2 separate regions of the Homo sapiens genome follow, and region 1 is linked to region 2. The links are contacts of gene promoters, found by promoter capture Hi-C in human tissues and cell types (Jung and others, 2019). All regions are on one chromosome and are shown on one strand. The core of a region is centred on a gene start or on the middle of the fragment in contact, and the rest is flanking DNA. Distances in the headings are between cores, read along the strand shown.

Region 1 (4,466 bases), core at 1,371-3,870, 100 kb after region 2:
GTTTCGAGTGACTCTTCTGCCTCAGCCTCCTGAATAGCTGGGATTACAGGCATGCACCAACATGACCATCTAATTTTTGTATTTTCAGTAGAGACGGGGTTTCTCCATTTTAGTCAGGCTGGTCTCAAACTCCCGACCTCAGGTGATCCGCCTGCCTCGGCCTCCCAAAGTGCTGGGATTAGAGGCGTGAACCACCGTGCCTGGCCTTAAATGTTTTTAAGTTATAAACATGTAAAATAAAATTCGCCAATGAATAACAAATATGACCAGAATAGAAAGGAAATAGTAGGAAAGACCAGTGGATTGAGGGCTAGAACGTAGTGTCTTGTCCAAGTAATATTTTGGTCTTTTTTGGAAACAAAAACTTGTTTAGAAAGATAGTCTTTACTGAATTTGTTAATTGGATTTTGCTTTCTTTTTTTTTCTTTTTTGAGGCAGAGTCTCCCTCTTTTGCCCAGGCTGGAGTGCAGTGGCATGATCTCGGCTCACTGCAACCTCCAAAGCAATTCTTCTGCCTCCACCTCCCAAGTAGCTGGGATTACAGGTGCTCACCACCACTCCTGATTAATCTTTTGTGTTTTAGTAGATGTTATCCAAGGTGGTCTCGATCTCCTGACGTTGTGATCCACCCACCTCAGCCTCCCAAAGTGCTGGGATTACAGGCGTGAGCCACCACACCCAGCTGCTCTCTGATATATGCGTGTATATTTATTCATTTGTTTTAATTTTTTGTTTCTTTTTTTTTTTTTGAGACGGAGTCTTGCTTTGTCTCCCAGGCTGGAGTACAGTGGTATGGTCTCGGCTCACTGCAACCTCTGCCCCCTGGGTTCAAGCGATTCTCCTGCCTCAGCCTCCCGAGTAGTTGGGATTACAGGCATGCGCCACCACACCCAGCTAATTTTTGTATTTTTAGTAGAGACGGGGTTTCACCATGTTTGCCAGGATGGTTTCGATCTCTTGACCTCGTGATCCGCCTGCCTTGGCCTGCCGAAGTGCTGGGATTACAGGCGTGAGCCACCGCGTCTGGCCTATTTTTTGTTTCTTGAGATGGGGTCATGTGATGTTGCCCAGATTGGCTTCAAACTCCTGGGCTCAAGCCATTTTCCTGCCACAACCTCCCAAGTGGCTGGGACTACACATACGCACCACCATGCCCAGCTCGAAGTACTACTTTTTGTAAATATAACATTTTGGAAATCCTCTTGAATTTTTTTTCCAACTTGGAAAAATTTCCAAATTCTTGTTTGAAAACATTGCCACCCGTGTAATTTTACCAAGGCAATAGGAACATTTCAGGAGCAACACCACCATCTTGTGGCCATATGGAGTATTGCTGCTGAGGATTTAAATTTGCGCTTCCCCCGTGACGGGTGGTCCTGCCTTATGTAATGGTCCTTTGGAAAGACTCCAGGTGGCCTCTGGTGGGGGCTTCCTGCTCTCGAGGGGGATACAGTAGCAGACATGATTGAACGCAGTGTGTGCTACAGAAAAGCAAGCGCCTTAAAGGCATTAGTTCAACAATGGAAGTAGTTGTGCATTTGAGTGGCAGGATTAGGGGTCATTTTAGTATTATAGTCTTAACATTCTGAAATAGTTTCTATATATTTTTAGAATATGATATTAGAACTTAGAAAATTTCACAACATATAATGCATGCCACCCCTTCTTTGATGAGTAAACCAAACCCAAGAACAAGAAGCTTCTGATGTTTAGTAGAGCACCTGTAATCCCAGCACTTTAGGAGGCAGGTAGGTAACTAGAGGCCAGGAGTTCGAGACCAGCCTGGCCAAAATGGTGAAACTCCATCTCTACTAAAAATACAAAACAAAATTTAGCCATGTGTGGTTTCAGGTGCCTATAATCCCAGCTACTCAGGAGGCTGAGGCCTGAGAATCGCTTGACCCAGGAGGCGGAGGTTGCAGTGAGCTAAGATTACGCCATTGCACTCCAGCCTGGGTGGCCGTGAGACTCTGTCTTAAAAAAAAAAAAAAACACTTTTCCACCAAGAGACCCTTGGAATCTGAGTCATTCTGACCATTGTTTGTTTGTTTGTTTTTGTTTTTTTGAGATGGAGTTTTGCTCTTGTTGCCCAGGCTGGAGTGCAATAGCGTGAGCTCCTGCCTCAGCCTCCCGAGTAGCTGGGATTGCAGGCATATGCCACCATGCCTGGCTATTTTTGTATTTTTAGTGGAGACGGGGTTTCTCCATGTTGGTCGGGCTGGTCTCAAACTCCCCACCTCAGGTGATCTGCCCACCTTGGCCTCCCGAAGTGCTAGGATTACAGGCGTGAGCCACAACGCCTGGCCTTTTTTTTTTTTTTTTTTTTTGAGACAGTCTCACTCTGTCGCCCAGGCTGGAGTGCAGTGGCGCGATCTCAGCTCACTGCAACCTCTGCCTCCCGGGTTCAAGCGATTCTTCTGCCTCAGCCTTCCGAGTAGCTGGGACTACAGGCGCCCGCCACCACGCCCAGTTAATTTTTTGTGTTTTTAGTAGAGACGGGGTTTCACTGTGTTAGCCCGGATGGTCTCGATCTGCTGACCCCGTGATCTGCCCGCCTCGGCCTCCCAAAGTGCTGGGATTACAGGCGTGAGCCACCATTCCCAGACAGGGATTGTTTTTCAATAACTTTCCTGAGATATAATTTACATAATACCATATGATTTCTCCATCTAAAGTCTACAATTCATTGCTTTTAATATATTCAGAAAGCTGTCCAAGTATCACCACCATCAATTTTAGGACTTTTTAAGTCTACAATTCATTGCTTTTAATATATTCAGAAAGCTGTCCAAGTATCACCACCATCAATTTTAGGACTTTTTTTTTTTTTGCTTCTAAAGCCAGAGGGAGGATGGTTGCTCCCTTTCTCTGGACAGGGAAGCGGGTGAGAAGAGCTTATAGAGGCATCCATCCGGTGCTTGGGAGGCTGAGGTGGGAGGATCGCTTGATCCCAGGAGTTCAAAACCAACCTGGAAATATAGCAAGACCCTGTCATTACCAAAATATTTTTTTTTAATTTAATTAAAAAACCAGGCTGGGCAACCTGGCAAAACCCCGTCTCTACAAAGAATACAGAAATTAGCCGGGCATGGTAGTGTGCGCCTGTGGTCCCAGCTACTCTGGAGGCTGAGGTGGGAAGATGGCTTGAGCCTGGGAGGCAGAGGCTGTAGTGATCACGCCACCACACTCCGGTTTAGGCTGTAGTGAAATCCTGCCACTAAAATAAAAAATAAAAGGTATTCATTCTGGCCGGGTGTGGTGGCTCACACCTGTAATCCCAGCACTTTGGGAGGCCAAGACAGGCAGATCATGAGGTCGGAAGTTCGAGACCATCCTGGCCAATATGGTGAAACCCCATCTCTACTAAAAAATACAAAAATTTGCTAGGTGTGGTGGCGCGCGCCTGTAGTCCCAGCTACTCAGGAGGCTGAGGCGGGAGAATCACTTGAACCCGGGAGGCAGAGGTTGCAATGAACTGAGATCGTGCCACTGCACTCCTGCCTGGGCAACTGGGTGACAGAGTTAAAAAAAAGAATCCATCTTAAATGGGTACATTTTGAATCAGATAAAAATCATATTCTGAATCATGGCGGGATAACTTTAGTTACTAGAAAATCTACCTTGTAGGGAGAAGCTTATTCACTGATAATGTTAGGGAAATGGGGTGTTTTGTGTATAGTTTGTTACAGATGGCTCGTGTGTGTGTGTGTGTGTGTGTGTAGGGTTAAATATACATGACGTAAAATTTACCATATTGGTCATTCATGTAAATTGCATCCTACAACCCTTGGTCTTTGTGAGCAGCTGCTCTCCCTGAGCCTCGATGTTGAAGTGTCCAGGTCAGCGGTTCACATTCATTGTTCATCCGTCACCACCGTCCATCTCCAGAACCTTTTCATCTTCCCCAACGGCTGCTCTGTGCCCATGAAACACTCCCTCCTCATCCTCCTGCCCCTGGCACCCCCATTCTACTTTCTGTCCCCATAAGTTTGACTGCCCTGGGGACCTCATACAAGTGGAATCAGACAGTGTTTGTCCCCTTGTGCCTGGCATGTCGTATGTTGCAGATTTTTTTATGGTGAAAAGATATACATATATTTAGAATTAGCCAGCCGGACTCGGTTTACATGATCTCCATTTTGTTGGCCACACCCAAAGCATCCTGATCAGGAGCCAGTGGAACATGTGCCTTCTTCTCTCCATCAGGCCCAATCAGGGTATTGACCTGGGCCACAACCACCTCACAGAGTTCTTCACAGCCTGTTTGAGCTGGTGCTTGTTGGCTTTAACATCCACAGTGAAGACAAGTGTGTTGTCTTCTGTCTTCTTCATGGCAGACTCAGTGGTCGGTGGAAAATTGATGATCGCATAGTGGTCAAGCTCGTTTCTCCTGGGGGCGCTCTTCCGAGGATATTTGGGCTGCCTCCGGAGTCGCAGTGTCTTGGGCTGCCAGAAGGCGGGTGACG
Region 2 (4,612 bases), core at 1,757-4,256:
CAAAGCGGGCTGTGTTCTCGCGCTAGCCCAGCCTAAGGGCACCTTTCCATGTTTTGTTTTGTTTTGTTTTTTGTTTTTTTTTTTTTTTTAAACACGGACTCTCGCCCTCTCACCCAGGCTGGAGTGCAATGGTGCGATCTCGGCTCACCGCAACCTCTGCCTCCCAGGTTCAAATGATTCTCCTGCCTCAGCCTCCAGAGTAGCTGAGATTACAGGTGCCCACCACCATGCCCAGCTATTTTTTGTACTTTTAGTAGAGACAGGATTTCACCATGTTGGCCAGGCTGGTCTCGAACTCCTGAACTTGTGATCCATCCGCCTCGGCTCCCCAAAGTGCTGGGATTACAGGCTTGAGCCATGGCACCCGACCTGTCTTTCCATGTTTTGCTGGCAGTTCAGGGGCCTTCTTTCTAACTCCAGGCTGACAGGGTTTGGCGCCCAGAAGGAGAGTCACTTGGGCCAGGACTCCAGAAGCACCAGCTGAGGTTGAGGGGACTTGGTGGAAGGGATAGTTAGCAGCCTGGCCAGAGGGGCGCCAGGACTCACCCAAATGCACACTGGAGGGGATGTTCAGATGGCACGAGAACGGGGATCACACATGGTCGTTCACACACGTGCACTTGAAGATGCATGCACACACATACACCCAGACACACACACCCGCCCAGCCTCTCCTGCACGCAGGGGGCATGCACACACGAGGACGCTCCTCACCTGCATGCCTGACCTGGGGAAGAAGCCCACCTGGTGGGAGGCACCCTCCTCCCACCCTCCATCTGCCATGGCCCAAGTGCTGGCCCCGAGCCCGTGCCCAGGGAGACTCAACACAGGCCCTTTGTCCCTTGGGATCAGGGCTCCCAAGAGAGGGATTTACTGAGCATTTATTTCCTGCCCCGGGCACGCCCCAGTCCTCATTCTGCCAGGAGAAGGGAACAATGAGGCCTTCTCCTGCCCGCAGAGGTGGCTCCGGGCCGGCTGGCCCTTATGTGTCAGGAGTCGGGTTAGGACCACAAGTCCCTGTCCTCCCTGCCCTCCAGGTGTGGGGCTTGGGAAGACCCCTCTGTGACTCTGCAGCCTGAGGCACAGCAGACAAGAGAGTCTCCATCTGCAGCCCATGCAGCAGCCAGGGCCTCCCTGCAGCCCCCGGGCCAGGCTTGGCCTCTGCGGGAAGCCCCCAGCCTCACTGGAGGCAAGAACCTGAGTCCCTGGCTCAGATCTCCGGGTAGGACTGGCCTGACTGAGACCCTGGGCAAAACCAGGAGCTGACACCTCCTAGGGGCCTCAGCGGATCCCTGGGACTCAGGAACCAGAGGGAACGTCCTGCTGGCTGGGAGAGGGGCAGGATCAGAAGCCCAGGGACCTTTGCCCCAACCCAGCAGGCCAAGGCCAGGCTGTGCATGTGACTTGTCCTTGAGCAGCTGCTGCTGGGGAAGGAGGCCCTGAGGGAAGGCACCGCAGCCTTGTGCTCCTGAAACCCGAAGCTCCCACACACCCGCTGCGCCCTCATTGAGTTCCCGTTGGTACCATGCTCTGTGCTAAGCATTTTATCTGTACTTTCCCCAAAGAAACTTAATACTTTTATTGGAAAACCAGAACGCCTAACCACACATTTTGCCTAATCTTTCATGTAATTAACCTTCCACTAGTGCAAGTGTTGAAAGTAGAATACGCTATTCCCAAGTTTCAAGTTGAGGGAGGCGGGATTCCCAGGTTCTGGTTGTACATTCCCATTTTCACTGATCTGTTCAGTGGTCAATGGATTCTTGGGTTGCTTTCATGTCAGCTACTGTGAATAATCCTGCTATGAACATGGGTATACAAATATCTCTTGAAGGCTGGGTGGGGTGGCTCACACCTTCACCCTGGCACTTTGGGAGGCCGCAGAGGGCAGATCACCTGAGGTCAGAAGTTCAAGACCAGCCTGGCCAACATGGCGAAACCCCATCTCTACTAAAAATACAAAAATTAGCTAAGCATGGTGGCAGGTGCCTCTAATCCCAGCTACTCTGGAGGCTGAGACAGGAGAATCACTTGAACCCAGGAGGCAGATGTTGCAGTGAGCCAAGATCGCACCACTGCACTCCAGCCTGAGCGATGGAGCAAGACTCCATCTCAAAAACAAACAAAACTAAATCCCCCCAAAAAACCAAAAACAAATATCTCTTGAAGACCTTCCTTTCAGTTCTTTTGGGTGTATGCTCAGAAGTGGAATTGCAGCTGGGCGCGGTGGCTCATGCCTGTAATCCCAGCACTTTGAGAGGCCGAGGTGGGCGGATTACCTGAGGTCAGGAGTTGGAGACCAGCCTGGTTAACATGGCGAAACCCCGTCTGTACTAAAAATACAAAAATGAGCCAGGTGTGCTGGCGCGCGCCTGTAACCCCAGCTACTTGGGAGGCTGAGGCAGGAGAATCGCTTGAACCCAGGAGGTGGAGGTTGCAGTGAGCTGGGATCACGCCAATGCACTCCAGCCTGGGCGACAAGAGCGAAACTCCATCTCAAAAAAAAAAAAAATTGTTCCAGAGAAGTGAAGAGAGCCCAGCGGGAGCCCGCAGTGGGGACAGCCTGGGCAGAGACTTGGGGAGATCCCCATTCTGGGTGGAACGGGCCGAGGACCACTGTTTTCCCAAGAAGGTCCCATGAAGGAGCAGCCATGCCTCTAGGCCCCACCCGGCCTTCAGGGGGTCCCCAGGCTTTAAGGGGACTCCTGGCTCAGGGCCAGGCCCTTGGTGCTGGAGGAGGTTGTAGGTGGAGGACGGGGTCACCAAGAGGGCAGCCGGGACCCCTGGGCTGCAGACAAGAAAGGGACTGTGGGGTCCACCGGGTCTGGGCCACATCAAGAAGTGTGGTTGAAGACCCGCCCCTAGGGGCTGAAAGCCAGGGCGCTGCCAGGCATGAGAGGCCCCAAACAGCCCTTGGGCCCAGGAGGGTGAAGCTGGGAGTAGAGGGCAGAGCTCCCACCCCGCCCCGCCCCCAGGGGGCGCCCCGGGCCCGGCGCGAGAGGAGGCAGAGGGGGCGTCAGGCCGCGGGAGAGGAGGCCATGGGCGCGCGCGGGGCGCTGCTGCTGGCGCTGCTGCTGGCTCGGGCTGGACTCAGGAAGCCGGGTGAGCTCGGGGCGCTGCTGGCGGGATGGGGAGGCGGGGGAGCGGTGGGGAGGACGGGAGGTGGAGGCCGCGGGGAGTCACTTCTTGTCTCCCGCAGAGTCGCAGGAGGCGGCGCCGTTATCAGGTAGGGCGCCCAGGACGCGCGATTCCTGCCAGGGCCGTTGGGCCGAGGTGGACGGGGGGCGGTGAGGGGGTAGAGGGGGGCCTTTACTGCTCTCTCGCCCCCGCCCCCGGGATCGAGAACTCTGTTGGCGTGGAAAGTAACTAACGGACGCTGGAGGGGGATGGGCGGGCCCTGCAGAGCACGTGGGAGGATCTCCAGTGTCACCTACTTCCTGCTGCACACACGCGAGGGGACCCTGGGTGGGCAAAAACGTGCTTTCCCGGACGGGGTTGAAGGGGAGAAAGGGAGAGGTCGGGCTTGGGGGGCTGCCTCCCGCGGCTCAGCAGTTCCTCTGACCATCCGAGGACCATGCGGCCGACGGGTCATCACGTCGCGCATCGTGGGTGGAGAGGACGCCGAACTCGGGCGTTGGCCGTGGCAGGGGAGCCTGCGCCTGTGGGATTCCCACGTATGCGGAGTGAGCCTGCTCAGCCACCGCTGGGCACTCACGGCGGCGCACTGCTTTGAAACGTGAGTGGGGGTGCGAACGGAGGGGTGCGGGGACGGGCAGGAACAGGGCTGGAGGGAGTGCCACCGAACTTTACCTCTGGTCTGATGCCAGACTTGGGCGTGAAAGTTGTGCGTGGATGCGGCCTGGTGTTCTCCTGAGCCCCAGGCTGTGCTGCAGCCGGTTACACCCACTCCAGTTCCCTTTGGGTCTCCTGGAGGGAACCCTGTTCAGGTTATTCCAGAATGTTCTTCCAGAACATTTCCACACACTTTTGGGTATTCTCTCCCTTTTTCTTTCAACCCAAAGTTCACCACTGACCATCCCACCCTCATCCCCCCTCCTGGTGGACGGTGCGGTACAGTGTGGGGCACTGAGCCAAGGCCAGCACCCCCGGGCCGCTGTGTGGACTCCATCCTGCCAATCCCACATTGGCGTGGTGCATCTCCCCATTCCTCCTTGGGCTGCATGGGGGTGCCCCTGGAGGCCTTGGCTCAATGCAAGGCTCCTTGGGACAGCTCTGGGAGGTGACAAGACCCCACCCTTCTGCTGCAGGAGCAGGTCCTAGGACTTTGGTTGTGGTCTGTCTGGGCTCCTTCATTTCTGCAGGGGACCCTGGGTGTTAGCAAGTAGCAGCAACACCACAGTTTCCCCTCCTGCACTGGACCCCAGTTGTGCTCAGGTAGCCAGCCCTCCATCCAGGGCCCCTGACTGCTCTCTTCTCTTCTGCCAGCTATAGTGACCTTAGTGATCCCTCCGGGTGGATGGTCCAGTTTGGCCAGCTGACTTCCATGCCATCCTTCTGGAGCCTGCAGGCCTACTACACCCGTTACTTCGTATCGAATATCTATCTGAGCCCTCGCTACCTGGGGAATTCACCCTATGACATTGCCTTGGTG

What was found. The method cuts DNA at HindIII sites, captures the fragments that hold promoters and counts their contacts. A contact is called where the count stands out against the background at its distance.
Region 1: a fragment that was not itself captured here is called in contact with the fragment with the promoter of PRSS21 in region 2 in 7 of the 25 tissues and cell types used here (H1 embryonic stem cells, IMR-90 fibroblasts, heart left ventricle and 4 more).

The regions. Positions count from the first base shown.
Region 1 is chr16:2,918,535-2,923,000 of GRCh38, forward strand. The region is part of intron 2 of FLYWCH1 (FLYWCH-type zinc finger 1); the gene reads left to right. It also overlaps the pseudogene RPL23AP86. Among named protein-coding and RNA genes, the nearest start is that of FLYWCH1, 8.8 kb to the left of the region's middle. The HindIII fragment of the contact is 4,857 bases long and covers 193-4,466 here.
Region 2 is chr16:2,814,231-2,818,842 of GRCh38, forward strand. PRSS21 (serine protease 21) reads left to right here and starts at 3,007. Exons shown (of 6, transcript NM_006799.4): 1 at 3,007-3,102; 2 at 3,200-3,226; 3 at 3,571-3,736; 4 at 4,447-4,612. The coding sequence starts at 3,039. RefSeq lists an enhancer at 709-1,209 and silencers at 2,875-3,154, 3,265-3,324. The HindIII fragment of the contact is 10,567 bases long and covers 1,359-4,612 here.